Regions from separate parts of the Homo sapiens genome. Here all the other regions are linked to region 1. The links are contacts of gene promoters, found by promoter capture Hi-C in blood cells and fetal thymus (Javierre and others, 2016). All regions are on one chromosome and are shown on one strand. The core of a region is centred on a gene start or on the middle of the fragment in contact, and the rest is flanking DNA. Distances in the headings are between cores, read along the strand shown. Region 1 holds the start of ZDHHC5 (zDHHC palmitoyltransferase 5). Region 2 overlaps ZFP91 (ZFP91 zinc finger protein, atypical E3 ubiquitin ligase). Region 3 overlaps LPXN (leupaxin). Region 4 has its middle 5.6 kb from the start of CNTF. Region 5 has its middle 23 kb from the start of CNTF. Region 6 overlaps ZFP91 (ZFP91 zinc finger protein, atypical E3 ubiquitin ligase). Region 7 overlaps LPXN (leupaxin).

What was found. Contacts are between HindIII fragments. The CHiCAGO score rates a contact against its expected background, and 5 or more counts as called.
Region 2: a contact is called between a fragment that was not itself captured here and the fragment with the promoter of ZDHHC5 in region 1, in 3 of 17 cell types (total CD4 T cells, naive CD4 T cells and activated CD4 T cells). The highest score is 8.5, in total CD4 T cells.
Region 3: a fragment that was not itself captured here is called in contact with the fragment with the promoter of ZDHHC5 in region 1 in 9 of 17 cell types (non-activated CD4 T cells, total CD4 T cells, naive CD8 T cells and 6 more); the score reaches 12.9 in non-activated CD4 T cells.
Region 4: a fragment that was not itself captured here is called in contact with the fragment with the promoter of ZDHHC5 in region 1 in 7 of 17 cell types (naive CD8 T cells, total CD4 T cells, naive CD4 T cells and 4 more); the score reaches 15.0 in naive CD8 T cells.
Region 5: a contact is called between a fragment that was not itself captured here and the fragment with the promoter of ZDHHC5 in region 1, in 1 of 17 cell types (naive CD8 T cells). The highest score is 5.0, in naive CD8 T cells.
Region 6: a contact is called between a fragment that was not itself captured here and the fragment with the promoter of ZDHHC5 in region 1, in 8 of 17 cell types (naive CD4 T cells, naive CD8 T cells, total CD8 T cells and 5 more). The highest score is 13.3, in naive CD4 T cells.
Region 7: a contact is called between a fragment that was not itself captured here and the fragment with the promoter of ZDHHC5 in region 1, in 13 of 17 cell types (naive CD8 T cells, total CD8 T cells, naive CD4 T cells and 10 more). The highest score is 22.0, in naive CD8 T cells.

Annotation. Positions count from the first base shown.
Region 1 is chr11:57,666,608-57,670,091 of GRCh38, reverse strand. ZDHHC5 (zDHHC palmitoyltransferase 5) reads right to left here and starts at 1,978. Exons shown (of 12, transcript NM_015457.3): 1 at 1,905-1,978. RefSeq lists enhancers at 1,277-1,346, 900-1,537, 1,538-2,177, 2,347-2,926 and silencers at 1,457-1,656, 1,907-2,146. The HindIII fragment of the contact is 3,116 bases long and covers 1,388-3,484 here.
Region 2 is chr11:58,592,438-58,596,288 of GRCh38, reverse strand. The region is part of intron 2 of ZFP91 (ZFP91 zinc finger protein, atypical E3 ubiquitin ligase); the gene reads right to left. All of the region lies in intron 2 of ZFP91-CNTF (ZFP91-CNTF readthrough (NMD candidate)), which reads right to left. Among named protein-coding and RNA genes, the nearest start is that of ZFP91-CNTF, 15 kb to the right of the region's middle. The HindIII fragment of the contact is 3,157 bases long and covers 232-3,388 here.
Region 3 is chr11:58,546,884-58,550,536 of GRCh38, reverse strand. LPXN (leupaxin) reads left to right here. Exons shown (of 9, transcript NM_004811.3): 6 at 391-564; 7 at 670-751. Among named protein-coding and RNA genes, the nearest start is that of LPXN, 27 kb to the left of the region's middle. The HindIII fragment of the contact is 2,737 bases long and covers 1-2,703 here.
Region 4 is chr11:58,626,405-58,630,208 of GRCh38, reverse strand. No RefSeq gene overlaps it. Among named protein-coding and RNA genes, the nearest start is that of CNTF, 5.6 kb to the right of the region's middle. The HindIII fragment of the contact is 3,706 bases long and covers 1-3,622 here.
Region 5 is chr11:58,644,074-58,647,608 of GRCh38, reverse strand. No RefSeq gene overlaps it. Among named protein-coding and RNA genes, the nearest start is that of CNTF, 23 kb to the right of the region's middle. The HindIII fragment of the contact is 3,137 bases long and covers 474-3,535 here.
Region 6 is chr11:58,610,512-58,614,377 of GRCh38, reverse strand. It overlaps ZFP91 (ZFP91 zinc finger protein, atypical E3 ubiquitin ligase), which reads right to left. Exons shown (of 11, transcript NM_053023.5): 5 at 3,324-3,428; 6 at 2,640-2,774; 7 at 2,050-2,100; 8 at 1,538-1,616; 9 at 35-149. ZFP91-CNTF (ZFP91-CNTF readthrough (NMD candidate)) reads right to left here. Exons shown (of 13, transcript NR_024091.1): 5 at 3,324-3,428; 6 at 2,640-2,774; 7 at 2,050-2,100; 8 at 1,538-1,616; 9 at 35-149. Among named protein-coding and RNA genes, the nearest start is that of CNTF, 10 kb to the left of the region's middle. The HindIII fragment of the contact is 1,495 bases long and covers 1,353-2,847 here.
Region 7 is chr11:58,568,735-58,572,281 of GRCh38, reverse strand. It overlaps LPXN (leupaxin), which reads left to right. Exons shown (of 9, transcript NM_004811.3): 2 at 1,569-1,726. Among named protein-coding and RNA genes, the nearest start is that of LPXN, 5.3 kb to the left of the region's middle. The HindIII fragment of the contact is 6,686 bases long and covers 1-3,547 here.

The DNA.
Region 1 (3,484 bases), core at 729-3,228:
ATACTATATATTGTTTCATATATTTTCCACAGGAAAAAAGTCACATGGACTAATATTGACATAGTAATACAGAGTCATGAAAGGCCATGCAATTTTGGGAGTATAATACTGGGAACACAAAAGAGAACAGCATCTGAGATGCTTGGGGGCTACACAGTAGAAGGGAAATCAAAAACCTAACAATTTATTGGGTATAAATAAAGATGAACCAATTCTTAGCAAAAGAATGTGCTGCAGATACTAGGATGAAACCACAAGGGTGAGTATGGTTCATCAGAGTCAACAGTTTGAATCCATACTAGTATCAAAAAAGTATACAAGAATATGTATGCCAGCTGGGCACGGGGGCTCACGCCTGTAATCCCAGCACTTTGGGAGGCCGAGGCGGGCGGATCATTTGAGGTCAGGAGTTCGAGACCAGCCTGGCCAACATACCAAAACCCTGTCTCTACTAAAAATACAAACAAATGAGCAGGGCGTGATGGGGCATGCCTGAAATCCCAGCTACTAGGGAGGCTGAGACACGAGAATCGCTTGAACCCGGGAGGTGGAAGTTGCAGTGAGCCAAGATAGCAGCCACTGCACTCCAGCCTGGGCGACAGAGCCAGACTCCGTCTCAAAAATGAGAAAAAAAGTAATATGTATGCCATATTGAGGCACAGAGTAAACTATGAAATGGAAATATGTATATGTAAAACAAACAATACAGGATATGTGGTTTGAAGGCTTTAATAAGGTTTAATACAGGTATTTCCTTAAATAGGTGGATACCAGCAGTACCAAGGACAACACAACTATTTTTTGTTGAAATAAGCGGTGTAACAGTACAATAGAGTAAATCTAAATGCACAGTAATGGAGGTACCATGGAATAATTCACATGTCAAGGTATGGGAGAAAGAGCCAAGAAGTTTAATGTGGGTGTTATCATTATATACCGAGGTAGCAAAATACATGGCAATATAATTTTGTAAACATTAAGTTTATACAATGGGTGATAATGAGCATTCTGAAGATATTTGATCCAGGACAGAGGTATACTGAGATAGAAGGATGATATGCAAATGTTAGATCAACTTGGTCAAGATGGCATTAACCAGGAAGTGAAGAATCCAAGGCAAAAAATAGTCTAGCGTATAACGTATATGTGATCCTACAACTGCCTTCCTAACTTTTAGCAACTTTCTTACTTCTTATTTCAGTGTTTCATTTGGCCAAGTGGGTAAAACACTTTCCACCTGCCTGCCCCAAATATAGGTAAAATATTGACAAACGCATTCGGGCTCCACTTTAAAAAGTACAAAGTACTAAACGCATGGAGCACTCGGCTGGTGGCGGTAGGAGGAGGAAGCGGACGGGTGAGAGAGAACAGGTAACAGGATGAAGCTTGAGCCAAAATAAGTATCAGCAGAGTGGAGCGAGGGACTCGAACCGCAGAGCGGTAAAAGGGAAACAGCACCCGGTCCCCACCACGGGACTGGGGAAAGGAGAATCACCCGTTGGGGCAGGGCTGACGACCGCTGAAACCGAAAAGAAGGAATCCACGGCGGCCAGGCCCACCGAGGTTGAGAGAGCGGGCTGCGGGGACCGCAGAGCCCGAGGGCGCAGGGCCGGGGGCGGAAGGGGCGGCGGCTGGGCGCCAGGCACCGGGGACCGCGGTCTCGAGCTGAGTGGCCGTCTCTAACCCGTTCCGAGCCCTGGCGGTCGTGGATCCCCGGCCTCTACTCGTCGTCCGTTTCCAAGGCCCATGGGTCCCGCCGCGGTTGGAAGACCCGGCCCGGAGGAGAAATAGGGCCTTAATACCCTCCCCGTCTTCGGTCCCCCTTCCCTAGAGGTCACCCTCCCCTCCCACCTCGCTGGTACGGCACTTCCGGTTCCGCAGGGACCGGTGTCCTCCGCACTCACCCGCGAGCCCGGTGCCCGTCACCACCGCCGTCGTTGTCACCGCCGCCTCCCGGCAGTGCCGTCCTGCCTCAGAGAAGCAGCGCGCGGCCCCCGCACGCTCCACGCCCGCCCCGCTGCCGCGCGCTCCCGCCAGGCGTCGCTCGTCTCGGAGCCGGCGCGCGGCCGTTGCCCTCAGTGCCGGGTCTCGAACCCTTCCAGCGTTCCCATTGGCTCCCTAGTCCGGGCTCGCGCGACGTCTCGCGCGGCGCACGTTTGTCTCATTCATGCGGCTCGCGCTGCCGCGCCCAACCCCGCTCACTCTCCCATTCACCCATAGCCCCCACCCCGACTCCGATCTGGGGCGTGCGCGCGAACCCTGGCGACCGCGGCGACCTCGCGGCCTGATTGGCTGCAGCAACACAACGACGTACGCACGCGAGAAGACGAGAGCGCGCACGTAAGGCCGTGGGGTTGCGGGGACAACTAAGAGACAAGGATTGGCCTAATGCACAGGAGTCAGGAATGAGGAAATGGCCAGGCGAGTCTTCCCTTCTCCTGCGTCCTGTTGTATTCCCACTGAATCCAAGCAAAAACCCCCGGAAATAAGAAAAGAATTATGTGTGTGTACTAGAAGTACTCAAAAGCAAGCAGCTACCTTCTCGAATTCAGCAACCCCTCTCCTACTGAGGTGGTACAGTCCAGACAGGCTTCCAGCGCAGCCAATTACCGACGACTATCGCCGCTTCCTGCTTCAGCCCCTTCGCGGCGGATTGGCCAACCATTTGGCGACTAGGCCTCCCTCTTCTCCTTCCCATCTCCTTTTTTTTTTTTTTTTTTTTTTTTGATGGCAAAAACTTTATTTAAAACAATCTTGCTGGAGAAATCTTCAGTCCGGCGAGGTCGCTGGTCCGGGCAGAATCCAGGGCGATGGAATGGTCTGGGCTGTGTCTCCCACATGAAGGGGACGCCCGGACTTGAAGAGCCAATGTAGGGCGAGGCTCCTGCCAAGGGCCGGGGAGGGAGATGAAGAAGAGCAGGCGCCAGCCTTGGAGCCGTAGCGCTAACCGTGAGAGGGAAGCCTAAGGAGCGCGCGACCTGAGGCGGTGGCAGCACCCTCCCGCCCCCGGAGTGCGAGCCGGGAAGTGAACTCCCTGAATTCCATTAGTTTCCCACTGTCACACGTGGGATGGGCGCCCGCATCCCTCACCTCACCCAATCCTAGAATACAAAGCTAAAAGCAAAAGGTTCTCTAGAATAGCTACTGTCCCTGGCGAGCTAACTCTGCATAGGTCATAGTGCTACGCTTTGCCCTGATTAGCCCAAGACAGCTGTGAACCCAATAGCAATGCCCCATGTTCTCTCCCCATTCGGCTCGAGGCTATTTCTTTTTTCGAAAGCAACTCTAGCTATTACATAATGGTCCCTCAAAAAGGTGTTTCACAAGCCACTTCCCTGAAGCCGAGGCCCCTCACCTGTAAAATCCTGAGGACTGTCCTCGGGTTTGGTCTCAAATGTTGCTGGCTTTACTGTGGTTCTGACACTAGCATTAGGCAGTAAGGTAAAAGAGAACTACCTTCTGTTTTCTGGAATCTAGTTCCTTC
Region 2 (3,851 bases), core at 561-3,060, 930 kb before region 1:
GAGATAAGAGTAACGATTCTTCTTCTTCCTCCTCCTTAGCCTACTCAATGTGAAGAAGAGGACAAAGACCTTATAACGATCCACTTACACTTAATGAATAGTAAATATATTCTCTTCCTTATGGTTTTTTTAAATAAATTTTCTTCTCTCCAGATTATTTTACTGTAAGAATACAGGATATAATACACATATAAAATATGAATTAGTTGACTTTATGTTATTGATAAAGCTTCTGGTCAACAGCAGGCTATTAGTAAAGTTTCTGGGAAGTTAAATGCAGGTTTTTGTTTGTGAGGGGGAGGTGGTGCCCCTAACCCTACCATGTTGTTCAAGGGCCAACTGTACATTCTTGAAAGAAGGTATGAAGTAAGAGTGGTTTATACTATGAGTTGAGACAATAAGAGATTAATGCTAGGCCAGGCGTGCTGGCTCAAGCCTATACCCAGCACTTTGGGAGGTGGAGATGGGTAGGTCACTTGAGGTCAGGAGTTCCAGACCAGCCTCGCCAACATGATGAAACCCTGTCTCTACTAAAAATACAAAAATTAGCCAGGCCGGTGGTGGCGCACACCAGTCCCAGCTACTCAGGAGGTCAAGACAAGAGAACTGCTTGAACCCAGGAGGCAGAGGTTGCAGTGAGTTGAGATCGCACCACTGCATTCCAGCCTGGGCAACAAAGTACGACCCCGTCTCAAAACCAAAAAAAAAAAAAAAAAGATTGATACTACTGGCAGGAATGTTTTCTTCTAATTCTTCTAGATAGCAGACAATGAAATATGATTTATCTCAATCCTACAGCCAGAGATAATTATTATAACAAGTCAAACCATCAAATTCCAAAAGATGAGAGCCACTTGGTCATGATAAAATACTTTAAGTTAGAAGGGCCATTCTAACATAATCAATGCTATTATTTTATTGTAGGGTGAAACAGGGTGTGGTTAGTTGATAAGCTGGGAAGATACTAAAGGTAAAGGTCTTCAAATCTCTCTTTAAGTATTTAAATTTCTTCTGGGCAATTAACAAATCTTAAGTATTAACTGCTAGGTAATATATATTTTTTTCATTTCTCAAAAATCAGTTATAACCCTATCAAGTATTTATTATTCTTATCTTCATAGATGAAGAAACCAAGTAACTGACTTTCCCAAGTGCACATATTAAAAGCTGCTGAGGGAACTGAACACGGGTATATCTAAGTCCAGTCTATATTCTTTCTACTATACCACACCTAACCATATAAACGAGAAATGGAAAGCACCACGGCAAGGGCTCAATCCAGATTTGGCTCATTTCCACCCAGCCTTGGATTCAAGTGCCAAGAGGGCCCCATTTATATAATATACTAACCTGAAACACCTGTAAGAATTATTCCATGAGTGAATTTTTAACCTAAAGCCACATGCTGTATTTCCTTATGTTTCAAAACAGAACTAGAGAAATTTTATTGTGATTAAAAACCGGAAAATAAATGAGATTTTAAAATTGTATTTAAGAAATTTAGAATGTTTACATTCCAAAACAGTTTACTCATTTTTAAATCAACACTGTGTATTAATGCCTAGATTTTTCTTTCTTATTCTAGTCATCTCTGTTTACTCCATCTACATATGTTTTTTCCTGGCTTACTGATTTCAAAGCAGACATCAGCCACTGGTGCACTGACAGAAAGGATAAAAAATATTAGGCTTTCACAGAATTTCTGCAGATATTAAAATTTTGGAGCAAAACAAAAATAGAATCACAAAGTAATGTCATCAAAGTTCAAAGTATAGGCATTAGGTGAATTAGTTCTGCTTCTTAAAAACATTAAGACTTTGCTCAGACATAAGTTTGAGAAGGTGAAAGGATGGTTTCTCTGAAAACACAGCTCTTAAAACTAGTGCTTATTAACTTAATGATCTCTATAGCTAAGAATTAGCTCAACATTTAAGTTTAAATAAATATGGTGAACTCTGAAGAATAAATAAGTGGTAGCTAGCTGATAAAGAAGGGGCAGGAGAAACGAGTACATGTACATGTCTTGAGAATTGAAAGAAAGAAGATAAACATGACTGCAGCAGAGAAAACATGACAAAACCCATCATTTATCATGCCGAGGAGGCATAAAAAAGTCTAACAAGGTCCTTCCAGGATTTTGAATCTTATCCTAATAGCCACAGACAGAGTTTAAACAGAACGGTGACATGATCAGATTTGCATTTTTAATGTTCATGTTGGCTGCAGGCTAGACAATGAGCTAGGTAGGGGCAAGAGTAGATGCTAGGTAACCAGCTAAAAACCTACTCCAATATGCCAGGCAACAGATAATAATGGCTTTAAAGAGGGTAATACCACTGAATATGGAAAGAATTAGAGATATAAGAAATACTTAGGAAACAGACGAGACAGGACTAGAGAATAACTTAACAGGGATAGAGGGAGATGCCAAGGATTTGGGATTCTAGATTTCTGACTTGAACAATTGGACTGATGATGAAAACAAAGAAAAAGATCAGGGTTTTTTGTTTCTTGAAGAGACACTAGAGAGAATATGTGTTCTGCTTTGACCAAGTCTGAGATTACTGCTGAGTAAAACATCAACAGGCCTAAAGTTCAAAGGACAGGGCGGGCTACAAACATAAAATTGGGAATTGTCAGCACATAAAAACAAACTATTATTGTCTAGATTTAGCTTGGTTCATATAAAATGGATCATTTTCAATATTTATGAAATGTGTTGTTTTTGGCTATCCCCAACATCTGGCTTATTCATTGATTTCTCTCTTCCAGCAGCAGTTTTGCATTAAAAAATATATTAAAAACAACCACAGTACAATCTTGTTCTGTTCATATCACTTTTTCTGGGGCATGAAAGACATATACAAGCGTAGCACTAATATTGAGAACACGTTTAAGAAAAGGAAAGAGCAGAGAAAAATATTTGTGTATAAATTTATTGTAGCCTAAGTATACAGTGTTGATAAGGGGACCCATGCAGTTTCATCACCTGCTGGTGCTCTCTGAGCATCTGGTGGCTGCTGGGGACAGACAGATAAACTTAGAGTTTCATTCAAAACAATAGAACACACACCAACTTAGCAACTGTGAAATATGTAATACATTATTATTAACTGTGGTCACCGTGCAGTGTGATATAGTTTGGATGTTTGTCCTCTTCAAATCTCATGTTGAAATGTGATCCCTAATATTGGATGTGGGAGGTGTTTGTGTAATGGGGGTGGATCCCTCATGAATGGCTTGGTGCCATCCCTGTGGTAATAGGTGAGTTCTCTATTGCTTCATGTGAGACCTGGTTGTTTAAGAGCCTAGCCCCTCCTCCCCTCTCTCTCGCTCTCACTCTGTGACACACCTGCTCCACCTCCACCTTCCACCACAAGCGAAAGCTTCCAGGGGCCTCACCAGAAGTCTAGCTGATGCTGGTGCCATGCTTGTACAGCCTGCAGAACCATGAGTCAGAAAAAACTCTTTTCTTTACAAATCATTCAGTCTCACATATTCCTTTCTAGCAACTCAAAAGGGACTAATACACAGTGCAATAGATCATTAAAACCTACTCTCCCAATTTAACTGAAAGTCTGTATGTACCTTTTCATCTCCATCTCCCCTTTTCTCATTCCACCTCCTAACCCCCCAGCGTTCGGTAACTACATTTCTATGAGACAGTTATTTAGATTACACACAAGCGAGATCATACAGTGTTATCCTTCTGTGCTTGGCGCATTTTACTTAGCATAATGTCCTCTGGTTCCACCCACGTTGTCACGAATGACAGAATTTCCTTCATTTTAAAGATCATCTGTTTGATACCTTAGAACATTCTGGTCAAAGTAATGATATAATGAAATTAG
Region 3 (3,653 bases), core at 86-2,585, 880 kb before region 1:
GTTCAAACTAGAGGAATAAAAACTGTCATTTGGCCTTTTCCTCTTCCAGGGGTCCCTTCCACACTAAGGCTACAGTTACAACTTCTCTGTCATCAATGTGCTATATGTTGTTTCTGCCACCCCCTGTGGCAGTGCAGTGGTTGTGAACATTTACAGGCTTTCATCACAGTGATCAGTCCCGGAAGTGGGCATCCTTTTATTATCAATCCATAAAGCACAGACCACAGATGGCCTTAGGTGGAACCTAGGTCTAGGCCTCAGTGTTGTATAATTCCAGGGCGTGTTGTCTACAAGGGGTACAATGTGAAGAGTGCTCCCTAGAGTTGTGCAACCTGTAGGCTGTAGAGCACTCAACTGGCCTCCTGTGTCAGGCTTTATTTCACTCCACAGGTGATCCATGCTCTAGGGCAATCATGGCATCCTGAGCATTTTGTCTGTACTCATTGCAAAGAAGAGATTGGCTCCAGTCCCTTCTTTGAGCGGAGTGGCTTGGCCTACTGCCCCAACGACTACCACCAACTTTTTTCTCCACGCTGTGCTTACTGCGCTGCTCCCATCCTGGATGTAAGTAAATCCCCGCTCCTCTCCAGCTTTCAGTCACTCACTTAGAACCAGAGTCATGCTTTACAACTTCTGCATCATTATAATATCTGTGTGTTCCCTTTCCAGAAAGTGCTGACAGCAATGAACCAGACCTGGCACCCAGAGCACTTCTTCTGCTCTCACTGCGGAGAGGTGTTTGGTGCAGAAGGTATGACCCGACTTGAGAGGCTGTATCCCACACCCCAGTGGGTAGTTATAAGACCAGCAACACCTTTCCTGGTAGTCACGGGAGTCCTGGTTCCTATCAGTACTATCAAAGTGCCCATTTCAGTACTAGATACCATCCCTCCCTACCTTTCTCCAACATTTATAATTTCCCTTTAAATTGATTTTTTAAATCACAGAAATACAAATGCATAGTTTAAAAACTCAAATATTACTTCAAGGGTAATATTGAAAAAGCCTTTTCTTGTTGAATATTGAAAAAGTCCCTTTCTCATCTCCAAATCCAGTTCTCCTCTCCAAATTATTTTAGCTGTTTCTTCTGATATTTACTTATTTTTTGTTGTTGTTGTTGTTTGTTTTTTTGAGACGGAGTCTCACTGTGTTGCCCAGGCTGGAGTGCAGTGGTGCGATCTCTGGTGCGATCTCCGCCCACTGCAACCTCCACCTCCTGGGTTCAAGCGATTCTCCTGCCTCAGCCTCCCAAGTAGCTGGGACTACAGGCACTTGCCACCACACCCGGTTAATTTTTGTATTTTTAGTAGGGACAATGTTTCACCATATTGGCCAGGCTGGTCTTGAACTCCTGACCTCGTGATCCGCCCGCCTTGGCCTCCCAAAGTGCTGGCATTACAGGCATGAACTACTGCGCCTGGCCTGCTTATGTGTTTTAAATAATAACTTTATATTGTTATAGATTGTTTTATTTTTCCAGTTTTAACCATTATGTATTGACTGTCTAAGAGGGAAGATGAGGTTTAGAAATGTTATTATTACCCCACTCACTCCTAACATATTTCCCCTCCCCTGTTTTTTCAATATATAATTATGTCATAATTACAGGTTAGATCAGTATTAAGTGTGCATATGTTGACAATCATAGAATACTGCTCACAAGTAAGCCATGTAGCAAACTGACTACACTAGAGTCTGGATTTTAGAGTCAGACTTCCAGGTTCAAATCTGGGTTGTGGTATTTGTTCAAGTCATTTAACATCTCTGTACCTTACTTTCCTCATCAGTAAAATAGTCCTAATGAAATTGCCTACCTTATAGGGTTGTTATGAGGATTTAGAGACAATACAAGCGTGGTATTTAGAATAGTGCCAAGCACATGGAGGTATAGTAGTGTTAATATTATTATCACAGTGTCCTTTTGGTATAAATTCATTTTTTTCTAAAGTTAACATTTGAATCCTTTTTGAAATTGGCTTAGTTTTTATTGTACTTATCACTAAGTTATGCAACAGAACTGTGAAATTCTTTTCAAAATGGCCAACTACATCTGGCAACAAGTCAGTTTCTTTCTTTTCTTTTTTTTTTTTCTGGAGATATCCCTCCAGGAGACTTTCCTCCTCCTGATTCAACATGAAATGATTTCTTCCTGCTGAGTAGCAGTCATTCTGGTTCATTAACTTAGAATTATATCTAGTAATTACTCTTGGAAATTCCTTTTATTAGTTTCCTCTTTGGATGCTCTGTTTCCTGGGTCCCATGTCTATGTTTTATACATGTTACCACCTTTATTTTGGTGGGGAACATCCCCTAGTAGCTTTCTGAGAAAGAATTTTTGAGAACTTGAATATCTGAAAATATTTTTATTCTGTCATTGCCCTTAAGTTGCCTGGGCATAGAATTCTAAGTGGAAACTATTTTCCTTCATAATTCTGAAGACATTGCTTCACTGTCTTCTAGCTTCCATGATTGGCAAGTTTTTATTAAATTTTTTTTATCCTTGATCCTTTCTACATGACCCATTCTTCCCCCTTTGTATGTTTGTTTCATGTGTTTTCTGAATTGTCTTGTTTTTTTTAATTTCTCCTTTTTATGTTTGTTTTGAACAAATATGGAATCAGAAAGCTGCTTTACTTTGTTTTTCTCCTGTCCTTTTAGAATGAACTCAGTGGGGAAGGATTTCTCCTCTCATAAATAAAAGCTTGTGCAGTCCTCTGTCTTTTCTGATTACTGTTAAAAAACAGTTCTAAATATAAAATCAATTTAAGAAACAAAACACAAAAACTAAGCCATTAGGTAATTCAGTCTGTGTAATAGTTAAGGCTTCCAGCACTTTAAAAGTGACAGCCACTCCCTCTCTTTTTTAGGACCTTCAAGCTGCAGGAGGCGAGGACAGGGGTATGGCCTTTCCTCTCTCCTGACCTCGCTTTGTTATCTACCACCCTCACCCTTATTGCCAGCCTTGACACCTGCCTGCTCTAGGGTTGAAACACTAGGGAGGATGGAGATGAGAATAGAAGGCAGGAAGGTCTAACTTGTCTAGGATTGTTGTTAAATTGGCTTTATGCTCTCCAGGCTCAGCCAGTGTTTAGCTCTGACTTTTTTCCCTGAATTCTTTTCGGGATTAAGACAGGTCCAGCAGTGAACTCTTGATTGCCCTTTACGTGTCTTGACTAGCTATTCTCTCCTTGTCATGTTTCTTTGAGGATTTGTTTTGTAAAGATTCTTTTTTCAAGGGGCTTTCATTGTTCCCTCCTAGTGAACCCTTAGAAATTATTAACATCGTTCCAGATAATCTCTTCCTCTCATATTTTCATAGAAGGACCATGGATAACTTACTCTTTTCTCTGACAGCCAGTGGAGTTATAATTTTTAGCTGCATGTTTCTATTCAGCTGCCATAGGCTCTTTCAGCCAGACTCATCTATGGACTTTTTCCAGGGGTAACTCTGATACCACTAACTGCATCTCACTAATGCCAAGGCACACATATCCAACTCTCTGAGTCGTCCCAGTGAAGTCCCTCTTTTAACCTGAGGTTATCAAGAACTATACCTCATCTTTCTTGGTGGTGATGGGGCACTCATAGCACAGTTTTCTTCAAAGGAATCCTTCTCTCAGTTTTCCTTTTTCTTTACCTGTTTTCTCCTGAAC
Region 4 (3,804 bases), core at 520-3,019, 960 kb before region 1:
GCCACATCTTTCCCCCATCATATCAGGGGAAGGATGAAATATAGCACCCTCAAATTATAGTAGAGGTGGGGGTTGGAGTGGCAAAAGAAGTCTGGATGAGGTGCTGTTCCTAGAGCTTCTAAAGGATTATTAGAGTTGAGGGAGCTAGAGGGCGCTGCATACAAGAGAGCAAGAAAGACCAGATGTTTCCTAAAATGAGGTTGGTTTGATGGAGAAGCAGGAAAGTGCAGCCAGGGGATCCATGGACTGTAGGTCTCATTCTGCCACTTTTTAGCTGGGATGTCAGGGCAAATTGCTGAACCTCTTTGGCTTCTTCATGTTATGTTTAACGAAGGGATTGAACTAAATGAAGTTTGAGTTCCTTCTGGTATTAACAGGAGGGTGTAGGCGTACGGTGGGATGATTCTAAGTCTAAACGCATGCTTTAATGTATCCTGGGCAGCTCCTTAGACGGCATGTTTCCTTGGCTCCCTCTGGAGCCTACCAGGCTTCTCCAGGACTTGTCTGACCATGCCTACCGTGAAAGCTGCCTCCTGGGTGAATGGCCTGGGTTGTAACTCTCCAGGGAAGTGGATGATTCCTGGAGGCTGTGAGTGAGACTGCTGGGTCAACCTCCAGTGGCCAAAGGCCAATAGGCACAATAGGGTGAAGTTGAGGCTGTGGCCAGATCATTCCTGGTAAGCAGGTGGTATTCTCTGAGATACTTAGGAGCTTGCTCCTCAATCAACTCTGAATCCAAGCTACCTGAGGCATTAAATATACCTGATGATGTCTGCATGTCAGTTACAAGTAATTTCAGATACTCAATTTGTCTATAACAACTGTGTAGTTAGCTATTTTTCATCATTTTCATTTCACAAATGAGGAAGCTCAGAAAAAAGAGTGACTTGTCTGAAAGTTTAGAAACTTATATAGACTTCGTTACAAAGCAAAATTCTGTACAAGCCTGTATTGGCTTTAGCCAAGGAGAGTGGATTAGAGACAGAGAATGGATTTCAGAATAAGAGAATTTTGATTACCAGATGTCCTATGGCACAAGATGTAGTGAAGTGAGCTTTAGAGCCAGAATTAAGACTCCAGCCCTGTCAGGTGCTAGAGGAGGAAATTTGGGCAAGTTAATGCTCATTCTCATTTTCCTCATCTAAGAGATATGTCAGAGGATTAAATAATATAAAATAATGCAGAGCTGCCTGACATGTTACATTATTCCCTTTCATACTACCTTAAATATGTGGATAGAAATACAGAATCTCTCAGTAACTGTTTCATATTTTCCTCTATGTGATTTTCAACAATTTGGTTTCTACCTCCAACCTGACTAAAAATGGGCTAGTCAGGGTTCTTCTCTTGAAGTCAAAGGCTTAATGGGGGGGGGGGGGTGGTCAGCTACTTGCAATTAAGCCATATAAAAGGAAATCATTCTCATCTGCAGTCTAGCTGATAGGACTACGTATTCAGAGGGCAAAGCATTGGCCTGGTGATATAGGGGCAATCTACCTTTTCTAGGCTGACTGGCCCTGGGAGTTTTGCCCAGTGTGAGTGGCCTGGCACCATGGAGATTTACTCAGCACGCTTGATTGGGCCTGGCCCTGGCTAGGAGGATTATGCTTCATCCAATGCTGAAGTCACTTGAAATTCCCCTCATTCATCCAAAGATACAGAAAAGAAGTAACTTATGGTATTGCTGAGAAAAGAACTTTATTGTTAGCTATTCTTGCATCTTTTGTTTTCTATGTGTTCAAACCAGATTGATCGAAATAATCTTTTATATTAAGAATCATAAGCACATAGATTTTATCTCACACCCAGACACTTCATCAAACCATCAAATTATCTTATTCTGTCTTTATCTGTAGTTCTCAGAGGGCTACAGAAGCCAAGAAATGAAGTTTTTATCATTTTTCGCTTTTGAATGCACCCACATTCAGAGAGCTCATTCTTGGGTGGGTCTGACGCTTGCAGTGGAGGTGGGATGAGGCAGGAGGCCAAAGCATTCCTTTTAAGAAATGTCCTGACCTAAACAGTACATTAACAGTACATTAGTCACACACGCGCGCGCGCGCACACACACACACACACACACACACACACACACACACACAGAATCAACTGAAGTGAAATCAAAATTCTACTCCCCCCTACCCCCTTCCTCTTTACCAATCCCCTTTACATCCTGGTGGAGGTCTCTCTGCTTCCCGTGTCTCTATTTCACCCCTTAACAGAGATGCTCAGGTACCTCATGAGGAGCTGAGGATTCACAAACAAAATTCAATCTAAATAACTTTTCAGATATGTCTTCCTGAAATATTTACTAGTCCTCTCCCTGTCTGACAAGTGATCACAACAATGAGTCATCCTTTGGGCATTGATCCATAGCAGCTTGAAATAACAGCAATACCAGAGCTATGACTTTACATTTTCCATTTTTATTAAAACTCTCCCTTCACTTAAACCTGATTATCTTAAGGCTAATTTTATTCCATGCTTGGCTTTCAAGTTTGTGCTGATTTGCGAGCCTTTTCCAAATCACCCTCTTACATGAATGCAAGAAAAACTCTCATCCATGCAATTCCTTGACTCAGGAAAACAAGATCTCTTTACCCACAGAGGACTTTTCAGAAGGTACTCTCTGAAAAGGAGGCAGAAGAAATTGTTTTTACAAAATGAGTTAGGGCTAGAAACTAAATCTATGTACCTTAAACTATAATTCAATCTATATAGTTATACCATATATGATTTCCCAGAGATCTTATCCATATCAGATCAACAGAATAAAACCTAATGAACAAAATCTTCTTGGGGTTCTATATTCCTAAAAAAACGTAATTCCATAGTGTCATCGTTATCCTCTTCTTTACTATAAGGCACACATCTAGAATACTAATCCATTCAGTCCCTTTTTCTATTTATCCATTTCAAATAAACATGATGCAATGTCTACACATTCAGATCTCATACATGTTGATTTTTGTTGCATGGTCTACTGCTCATTTCCCCTTTATCTTTTTCTAAGATTAGCTTTCCCCACACTTCTTTTGGGTGCATATTGTATGCTTCCTGAAAGACAAGTACACAGCGTTTTGCAAAGTGCTGACAATGCACTTGGTAAAGACTTGGTGATTCTGTGACTTAATTGTGACTTACACATTTTTCTATCTCCTCCCATTCAGTGGTTAGTACTTGTGCCTTTTGTGGACCCTCTGCCACTTCAAATCCGCCTCTTATACATACATATTCCTTTACATGCAACTCATGAGAGCTTAAGCCAAGCTCCACTGAGTTCTGAAACTTCTGCAGATGTCTGCTGCTGTACCTGCTGAACATAAAAACACTTGGAGAGGGGACACTCATTTTTTAAAAACATTTTTGATGGAGGGAGTATGGGGGCAACATCTTTTAATTTTTTATTTAAAAAATTTCAAAAATTTATTTTTACATGTATAATTGATGGGGTCATTTTAGATGCAGCAAATTCATAGTCAGTTATTCCCCATTAAGAAATTGTAGACATATTTCTCCATTGAACAGAAGTATTATCCAGATAGCTCTAAGAGCTTCATATTAATAAGCAGAAATTTTATTATTTGAGAATGCTGCTGTTAAGCAGAATTAAGAGAAAGCTTGAATGGAATAAGACTATACATTCAGTGCCAAAATTACAAATGATCACCTCTTCCCTTCTCTCATGACTTCTCTTTTGTACTCAACCAGTACAGAGTATTTTGTAGTTTTGTACTGAGACACAACTCCTACCTCCTCCGGGAAACTACTTTGGGCCCCTCTCCTTCCTTTAGCTTCCTAACA
Region 5 (3,535 bases), core at 793-3,292, 980 kb before region 1:
CACAGCAGGTGGGAAGGGGTAAAGCATGAAAGCCACATCTGCTTTCTCAGTGGGGAGGCTTGTAGCCTGGGGCAAGATCTCAGCCATGCTCACCGGCTGCCTGGATATAAACTTGGTGCTCTTGGTAGGGCATGGTGGGAGTGAGACTGGCCTTTTTGGCTGCATGTAAGCAGTGTGAGGCCTGTCACTGCTGGCTTTCCCCCATTTCCCTGGTGACCTGTATGATGCAGCAGAGGCAGCCATAATCCCCCTGGGAACATAACCCCATTGGCCTGAGAACCACACCTTCATCCCCCACAGCAGCTGCAGCAATCCCCAGCCAAAGAGAGTCTGAGCTCAGACAGGCCTAACACTGCCCCCACCTGATGGTCTTTCACTAACCACTATGGTAGCTAAAGACAAAAGTCATAATCTTTTGGGAGCTCTGTGGCCCCACCCATCACCCAAGAAATCTGAATACCTTAGGGCAAGCTTGTATTCTCTCTATACCACTGCAGCTGAAGCTCTCTTGAAAGCACCACCTCCTGGTTGGAGGCCAACAAACTCAAGCCATTACAGAAACTCAAAAAAGAACAACCCTGCTCTAAGAAAGGAGAAAACAACAGCTAATTCTATCACCTGTAACATCCTGGCTAACCAGAGGTCCTGAGTCTGTCCATGTGACAACTTCACTGCTACATTAACTAGCATTTCAAACAAACAGTGCACTAAATAAAACTATAATCAAGGTCCCACACAGAGTCCACCTCGCTCCCCAGCTACCTCCACCAGAGCAGGTGCTGGTATCCACAGCTGAGAGACCTGAAGACAGATCACATCACAGGACAAGTTGCAGACACTCCCCAGTACCAGCATGAAGCCCAGTAGCTCTTCTAGGTGGCTAGGTCCAGAATAACAATAACAATCACTGCAGTCCACCTCTCAGGAAGCCCCATCCCTAGTGGAAGGGCTTCAAGGGATCACCCCCTTGGGACAAAAGAATCTGAAGAGTATCCTTGAGCCCCATAGCATTCCTCTGACACAGTCTACCAAAATAAGAAGGAATCAGAAAAACAATTCTGGTAATATGAAAAAGCAAAGTACTTTAACACCCCCAAAATATAACACTAGCACACCAGCAATGGATCCAAACCAAGAAGAAATCTCTGAATTGCCAGAAAAAGAAATCAGAACATTGATTATTAAGCTAATCAAGGAGGCACCAGAGAAAGAAGAAATTTCTAAGCAGCAAAGCATTCAAGAGGTGACTTGGGTATTCTTAAAAGCATTGAGTTTTATTCATTCACAGAGACATGGTTTGAAATTGAAACTTGTGTCTTAAAGGGAAGCTGAGCATAAAAGTTTGGGAAATTTACAGCCTGACAATGTGATAGAAAAGAAAAACTCATTTTCTGAGGAGAAATTCAAGCTGGCTGCAGAAATTTGCAAATTTGCATAAGTATCAAGGATCCAAATGTTAATTGCCAAGACAATGGGGAAAATGCCTCCAGGGTATGTCAGAAGTCTTCATGGCAGCCCCTCCCATCACAGGCCTGGAGAGCTAGGAGGAAAAAATGGTCTTGTGTGCTAAGCCCTGGGCCTTTCTGCTTTGTACAGTCTCAGGACTTGGTGCTCTGTGTCCCATCTGTGGCTAAAAAAACCAATGTACAGCTCTGGCCATTGCTTCAGAGGGTGCAAGCCCCAAGCCTTGGTAGCTTACATATGGTGTTGGCCCTGTGGGTGCACAGAAGTTAAAAACTGAGGTTTGGGAACCTCTCCCTAGATTTCAGAGGATGTATGAAAATGCCTGGATGTCCAGGCAGAGGTGTGCTACAGGGGCAGAGCCCTCATGGAGAACCTCTACTGGGGCAGTGCAGAATGTAAATGTGGGGTTGGAGGCCCCACACAGAGTCTCTACTGGAGTACTGCCTAGTAGACCTGTGAGAAGAGGACCACCATCCTTCTCCAGATCCCAGAATGGTAGATCCACTAACAGCTTGCGCTGTGCACCTGGAAAAGCTGCAGACACTCCATGCCAGCCTGTAAAAGCAGCCAGGATCAGGGGCTATACCCTGCAAAACCACAGAGGTGGAGCTGCCCAAGACCATGGGAGCCTATTTCTTACATCAGTGCAACCTGGATGTGAGACATGTAGTCAAAGGAGATCATTTTGGAACTTCAATGACTCTCCTATTGGATTTCAAAATTGCATGAGGCCTGTGGCCCCTTTGTTTTGTCCAGTTTCTCCCATTTGGAATGGGTGTATTTACCCAATGCCTGTACCCCACTGTATCTGGAAAGTAACTGACTTGCTTTTGATTTTACAGGCTCATAAGTGGAAGGGACTTGCCTTGTCTCAGATGAGACTGGATTGTGGACTTTTGAGTCAATGCTGAAATGAGTTAAGACTTCGGGGGACTGTTGAGAAGGCATGATTGGTTTTGAAATGTGAGGACATGAGATTTGGAAGGGGTCAGCAGTGGAATGATATGGTTTGGCTGTGTCCCCACCCAAGTCTCATCTTGAATTGTAGTTCCCATAATCCCCATGTGTCATGGGAGGGACCCAGTGAGAAGTAACTAAATTATGGGGTCAGGTTTTTCCTGTGCTGTTCTCATGATAGTGAATAAGTCTCATGATAGTGAATAAGCCAGCTTGAATTTCTCCCCAGCCACATGGAACTGTGAGTCTATTAAGCCCCTTTTTCTTTATAAATTACCCAGTCTCTGGTATTTCTTCATAGCAGTATGAAAATGGACTAATACAGTAAATTGGTACTGGTAAAGTGGAGTACTGCTATTAAGATACCCAAAAATGTGAAAGCAACTTTGGAACTGGGTAACAGGAAGAGATTGAAACAGTTTGGAGAGCTCAGAAGAAGATAGGAAGATGTGGGAAAGTTTGGAACTTCCTAGAGGCTTGTTGAATGATTTTGACCAAAATGCTGATAGTGATATAAACAACAAAGTCCAGGCTGAGACGGTCTCAGATGGAAATGAGGAACTTACTGGGAATTGGAACAAAGGTGATTCTTGCTGTGCTTTAGCAAAGAGACTGGCAGCATTTTGCTCCTGCCCTAGAGATCCGTGCTATTCACAATAGCAAAAATATGGAATCAACCTAAGTTCCCATCAATGGATGAATGGATAAAGAAAATGTGGTATATATATATATATATATATATATATATATATATATATATATATAGAATGGAATATTATTCATCTATGAAAAAGAATAAAATTCTGTCATTTGCAGCCACACGAATGGAACTAGAGGTCATTATGTTAAGTGAAATAAGTCAAACATAGAAAGATAAATACCACATATTCTTATTCATATGTGGGAGCTAAAAAAAGTGGATCTCATGATGATAGGGAGTGGATTGGTGTTTAGCAGATGTTGGGAAGACAAGCAGGGAGGGAAAATGAAGAGAGGTTGATTAATGGGTACAAATATACAGTTTGATAGAAGAAATAAGACCCAGTGCTTGATACATCAGAGAGGTGACTATACAATAATATATTCTTTATTTCAAAATAGTGAGAAAAGAATA
Region 6 (3,866 bases), core at 851-3,350, 940 kb before region 1:
AATTACCTACTTGATAAACACATTTTAAAAGTACCTGTATGATGTTTGGCATGTCGCAGAAGTTGCTTCTGAAGCCTGAAGAGTCGTCCACAGGAGGGATGGGGACATACATATTTCTTCTTCAGCAAATGCTGGTATTTAATGTGGTGCTAAAACAGAGAAAGTGAAAGGGGCGAAAAAAAAAAAATTAAGGCTTCCTGAAAGTACTTGTCTTTGCTAAGTCAAAAGTACTGAAGGAAAACCAAATACTTAGATTTCACACATGGATAGTGAGGGAGTATAATAAAGTGGCTAAGAACATAGGTGGAAATACACAGACCTGGTTTCCAATCTGGGTCTGTCATTCACTAGCCTTTGTAATCTTAGGAGACAAATATTTCAAGCTCCAGTTCTCATTTGTAAAATGGAGGTAACAATAACCATCTCAAAGTGTTGTTATGGGGATAAGAGATTATGTATTGTACTGTGCTTTAGAGCAGCAAATGGCACACAGCAGAGGAGGAGCGGCTATTGTTATAACTGAACCACGATCCAGAAGAAGGCCTTCGTGTCATGTTATATTTGTTGCTGAAGATCAAACAGGTATTTCCTAAGCAGTATTTCACTTTCACGTTTCCTGCCAGACCTAAATATAAGTGGTACGTTTACTCATCAAAAATAATAATAATAATCTACTCAAGAAAAATAAAAACAAAACCTCAACTAAAAGTCTTTTATTCATTCTACACAGTACCCAAGAAATCACAGGTTTGAGTTCTAATTTTACTTTTTTTCTAAATCACTTTAAAATAAAATGTTACTCTGTATTTACACCACATTGGGAATTACTGTAATATTGAAAGATTCCAACGAAAGTTCTCTATGTGGGTTCAGATTCTTAGTCACCTCTTTTTAAACAGGAGGTGCTATGAATTTGGATGTGTTCACCACAGTTCATGTGTTGGAAACTTAATCCCCAATGTGATAGTGTTGGAAGGCGGGACCTAATGGGAGGTGCTTAGGTCTTAAAGGCTCTACCCTTATATAAATGGGTTGATATTATCATTGGAGTAGATTTGTTACAAAAGCAAGTTCAACCCATTCTTGCCCTTCCACCATGGGCTGACACAGTTAAAAGGCTCTTGTGAGATGTGGGCACCATGCTTTTGGACTTTCCAGTCTCCAGAACCACAAGCTAATAAATAAATATATGTTCTTTGTAAATTACCCAGTCTCAGGTACTCTATTATAGCAGCACAAATGGACTAATCATGATTAACCCATTTATGCTGGAGGTTGCAAATGTATTTTTGTGAAAAATCAGACCTTGGTGATGACCTTGAACAGTAGGATATAAATAACTTGCCCAAGCTTAGCATTCTAATAATGGAACACTAGGCATAAATGGGTTAAAGTCATTTTATGTTTAAAGAAAGACTTTTCTTGACATTACATGTCAATGATAAAGCCTACACAAGCCAACAAATTAAAGTCTCGTGGTGCAAGAACAAGTAATGGAACACAACCTGAAAGGCTCTTATATAACAACTTCACTGACCTGCAAATAGCGAGGATGGGCAAGGACAGTTCCACATCCTTCCATCTCACAACGGACATACTGGATTGGAGGCTTTTTTCTATTATCAAAATGCAGAAGAAAAGTTAGCAAAAAAAAAAAAGTGGTACTCTGCACAGTGGCCTCTGACTTAAACTGTGCTATTGGGAATAGCTATTTTATAGTAGGAAGAATTAAAATCTCTTTACTACTATACAGATTACACAGAATTTGTATTAGAAGTAACCAAGAATTAGCAAATATTTGACAGAATTAAAAAGTAACACAAATAAACTAATGACCCCCCAAAGGTAAAGTATTAAGATTGTTAGAAATTTCAAGCTCTTACAATGAAAATAAGATCATAACACCTGTGCATCTAGGACATTAGTGAAGTTGCTTTTGTGAAATTTTTAAATAGCCATTCCTGCAGGATTATCATGAAGTCTAAATTTGTGAGTAAAGTGCCTGGTACTGGAATAAGGTGTAAAACAGTAGGGGTAAAAATTCCTCACCTCCTTTTGGGTAAACGTGGACTTTTGTCATCTTTTCGTCTTCTTCCTCTCCTGTAATTGAAGACAGGGTAACAGTAGACATATTCTGAATCAAAACTACACAGTGAAGGCTGGCTGAAGACACACACACACACACACGGCCAAAGAACAAGTGGCAAAGGATAACCAAGAATACATAAAGTCAAAGATATATCTGGCAAATCAAGCAAGTAATTTTACCCTGAAGTAATTTCACTTTCAAATCAGTCTGTAAGACAGATTAAATATATACCTTCCATAAACTATGCAATACTATGAAAGACTTAGAAGAATCTCAATGTATTACTTTTAGAGTTGCTACCATGTATCATCTAAAAACACTAAGATTAAAAAATACCTTCTCCTTGCAATAGAACTGAAAAACCTAAACATTTTTTTACTAAGAGTCTCTCCAGTGAAATTGTCAGCTGCTTGAGGCCAAATTTTTTTAAGTTAAAAAATACATATTTTGAAGCATGTATACGTCAACATCCTTCCTCACACTCCCACTCTTTTTTCCACTAGTCGTTCAAAATCTGTTAGATTTTCATTTTTAATAATTGCCTACTCACTTCCTTGGAGGTTCCTCATCCTCTCTAATTTCATTCTCCTCTTCTTTCACCTCCACCTCTACTTCCACTTTAATTTCCTTCTTCTCCTTCTCTTCTTTTACCTTCCCTGATTTTCTCCGTGGCTTTGGGGTTTCCCTGAAAACACAAATGCATTTCAATACTAGACAAAAGATCTTTTCAAGGAAGACTATGACAACAAATTAAAGCTTAGAGTTATCACTGATTTGTTATAAAACTACCTTCCTCAGTTCATGAAATGTGATTTCCTACCAATCATCCTCACATGCATAGTAATGATCCAAATATATGTATATGTTGCTCATGGAATGAACCCTCCCCAGACTAAAGATGCCTGTAAATCAAATTTCACTATAATTGTAAAGAGAAACGAGACAATTAGTTAAAAAATTCTAAGTATTCAGGCAATTCATGATACCTTGTTGAAATAAAACATGCAGACTCATAAAAACTTGTATATAATCAAAATAAAGTTCTACAAATGGGAAAGAGGATTATTATCAGGGTATATTAAGGTGTTAGACTTACAAAAGAAGTGCATAATTAATTACTCATTTAAAATTAATTCTATACCCATTAGCTTGGCAACAGATAAAATAAAAGCATGCAACAGTGCTTTCCTACTTATATTTCATTAACATGTCTGCAGTAAAATCTGAGACATGCCTTTCTAAGTGGGGTTTGTAGGTCTCATCTCTTGGATCATCTTTGAATGGTATCTCCTCTTCACTGATTAACATCTCTTCTTCCTCCTCCTCTTCCTCTTCACTACTAAAAATAAGTAAATAGAAATGAGACATTCTGGTTGTAGCGAACATGTCTGAGGGGATTTTATTTGGTAATTTTTTAAGAGGTAGCCAAACACTGATAAAGTCATCTAGCATTTTCATCCTAATGACCTAATTGGACTGAAATCTAGCTGTTTTATCACAAAGAATAATAATTGAAACTAAAAAGACATAAATCCTAGATAAAGACAGGGTGATGACAACTCAATGGCATTAAAAGTTAAGAAACAACTGACTTTGTAATACTGTCTGGTGATCTGCTATATTAAAAGACCTACTAACAGATAAATCACAACACAAAAGATTCCAATAAAATCTCAAAACCTTGGCCAAAACACCCATATTTCACATTAGTGCCTACCATGGAATAAGTCCAAACACAGAAGATACTCAAGACATGATTTCTAAGCTATGTAAGTAG
Region 7 (3,547 bases), core at 951-3,450, 900 kb before region 1:
ATCTCTTCTAACGCCATTAAGAAATATTCATTCCTCCAAAATCTAAAATAAATGAAAAATCTGTTTTTTTTTTAATGACCTGTGAAGTTTATTTTCCTTATCTGAGAACTTTAGATGTAGGCAGGTCCTTAGAAATAATGTAATTATGTGTTTAAAGTTTGAAAGCTAAAATCTGTGGTAAGAAGTCCGCTAGAGATCCACTAATGCATTATTGAGCCATAATTTGAAAAATACTGTTCTAATCAAATTGCCTTGTTATGTAGATGAGGAAACTGCATCAGAGAAGGATGTGACATGCTCAAGGTAACCCAGAGAATATATATAAGACAGGAGACTGGAACTTCTAACTTTTAGTTAATGCAGGGGCTAGGGATCAGATAGCCCAGATTCAAGTCCTGGTTCTGCATTCATGCGCTTAAGCAAATTATTTTTGTCTCTTTCTTGTGATCTACAAAATAAGGACAATAATATCATCTGCCTCAAAGTGTTAGGATGATTAAATGAAATGTGTAAACTCCTGAGCACAGTGCCTGGCATGTGTTAATTTTTATTAATTATTATTTATTTCATTGTAACAGATAGATACTAGTATATAATACTTTTCCAAAAAAAAAAAAAGAAAAAAAACTGAAAGAGTAACAAATCCCAACTATTTAAATTGCAACATCTTACTTGATTTTGCAATATCTCAGTTTTATCCCCAACCATTTTTTCTCTCCACACCCTAAAAGACAGGATACTTATACCTTGCTTTGAAAATTTTGTTACGTGCTCAGGATAATTGTTAAGATTTAAGAAAAAATATCATTAGGATTAAGAATAAGTGTTATTTCCCTCGTATGTTTTGAAAAATGGTAATATAATTGCTTCTATTTTTCTGATAGAAAAAAGCATTTAGGATTTATTTATTTATTTATTTATTTATTTATTTATTTATTTTTTGAGACAGGGTATCACTCCTTTGGCCCAGGCTGCTGGAGTGTGGTGGCGTGATCTCGACTCATCGCAGGCTCACCTAGGCTCAGGTGATCCTCCCACCTCAGCCTCCCAAGTAGCTGGGACCACAGGTGTGCATCACCATGCTGGGCTGACTTTTTTGTATTTTTCATACAGACTGGATTTTGCTATGTTGCCCTGGTCTGGAACTCCTAGGCTCAAGGGATCCTCCCGCCTCAGCCTTCCAAAGTGCTAAGATTATGGGCATAAGCCACTATACCCAGCCCAGTTTTATTTTTTTCTAATTAAGGATATTTGTGGGGAATCTACCCTAAATGAATGATGAAAATTAATACCTGTGGTATAAAAAATCAAATTATAGCATGAGACTATGAAATTGAATGCAACCATAGAAAATAAGAAACAAACCACAATTTATGGAGGTGTTAAACATTTCTTGGTAGGATTCACCACATTCTTGAAGTGAAATAAGGAATAAGGGAAAGTATTTGAAAATAGCCATAATTGAAGAAAAGGAGATGAATGTGGGCACAGTGAAGATATTTAAGGAGAAAATGACTGTAGGGATTTAAATATTCTCTGTCATGATTCTCTTGCTTCTTATGGTGTAGATGCCTTATTGGAGGAACTGGAACGCTCCACCCTTCAGGACAGTGATGAATATTCCAACCCAGCTCCTCTTCCCCTGGATCAGCATTCCAGAAAGGAGACTAACCTTGATGAGACTTCGGAGATCCTTTCTATTCAGGATAACACAAGTCCCTTGCCGGTAAATTTTCATTTATTATAGTCCTTAAACATGGATGTTTGAGTGCATTTCTGAAAATTAACAGAATCCCACATAAAATAATATGAAAGGAGAATAATATATCCAAGAAAGAGAAAAAATAATGCCTCAATGTTAATCTAAAGATGTTTTTGGAAAGAGGAAGAGAATTGAGAAAATCATCACAGAGGAATGAGTTTTTGAGAACTAAATTTTTTTTATTTTTTTTATTTTTTTTATTTTTTTTTTATTTTTTGAGACAGAGTCACACTCTGTCTCCAAGGCTGGAGTGCAGTGGCACAATCTCGGCTCACTGCAACCTTCACCTCCCAGGTTCAAGCGATTCTCCTGCTTCAGCCTCCCAAATAGCTAGGATTACAGGCACGCACCACCATGCCCAGCTAATTTTTGTATTTTTAGTAGAGACGGGTTTTGTCATGTTGGCCAGGCTGGTCTCAAACTCCTGACCTGAGGTGATTCACCCGCCTTGGCCTCCCAAATTGCTGGGATTACAGGCATGAGCCATCACGCCCAGCCGAGAACTACATTTTTTCTAATGAGCACATGGTCACAGGCAGAGTATTGCATTCACTGGGGATATTCTGATGTTACTGTGGGGGCATCAGAGATGCCTGTTGCAGTTTGACTGGAATGGTACTCAGGCCAGAGATCACCTGAGGAAGGCCAGGTGGCAGCATAGACAAGTCTTCTCAGGGTGACTTTTTAGGGTCACTACTTCCCAGGTCTTATTTTCTGCTGAATAGATTAGGAGATTCAATTATTAGTTTATATAGAGATGATGAAGCTCTAGGGAACCAACTCAAACTAACCAAATTGACAAGTGATTATATATATATTTTAAAAACCTAGGGCAGGTGCAGTGGCTCAGGCCTGTAATTTCAGCACTTTGGAAGGCTGAGGCGGGGGGATCACTTGAAGCCAGGAGTTTGAGACCAGCCTGGGCCATATGGTGAGACCCCCATCTCTACGAAAAATTAAAAAATGAGCAGGGTGTGGTGGTGCGTGCCTATGGTCCCCGCCACTCAGGTGGCTGAAGCAGGAGGATTGCTTAAGCCCAGGTGGTCGAGGCTGCAGTGAGCTATGATTGCGCCACTCCATCCCAGCCTGGGCGACAGAATGAGAGCTTGTCTCAAAAAACAAACAAACAAAAAAAAAACAAAACTCAGAAATCAAATTTACAGTTAAAGCTATCAAGTAAAACAGCTATATTTACTCATATATGCATTCTCTTCCTATGGATAAGTCTATATGGACGTACATTATAATTAAAAGGTTGCTTGATGAGAATGGAATTAGTGTAAGATGAATTAAGTAGATGCTCTTCATAGCTGGTAATTTTGTACTATGATATTTTGATTCATCATTGTTCCCTGTATGAAATAGCCAGAAGCACAGACCTGAAATTTGAGCTCAGGGGTAGTTTACGCCCTAACTGTTCTTTTCTCCAGACACATACACAATTTTAACGATACGAATTTATCTCTCTACTAGGGAACTATTGTCTTTGTTCTCAGTGTTAGATTATAGCTGTAGGCTCCTAAGTGGTCTCCTGCCCTTTGCCCCACTGCAGTCTGTTCTCAAGCAGCCAGGGTCACCTTTAAAAACTAAAGTCAGACCCTGTCATTCTTCTACTCAAAACCCCAAAATGACTCCCATCTCATTTGGAGTAAAAGCCATAGTTTCATGTTGATCTTTCTGGGGTGACCATATATCCTGGTTTACCTGAAAGAGTCCTGGGTTTATGCTTGTTTTTCTCACATCCTATTAACTTTACTTTTTACCCCAGATCTTCAATTTTATTTA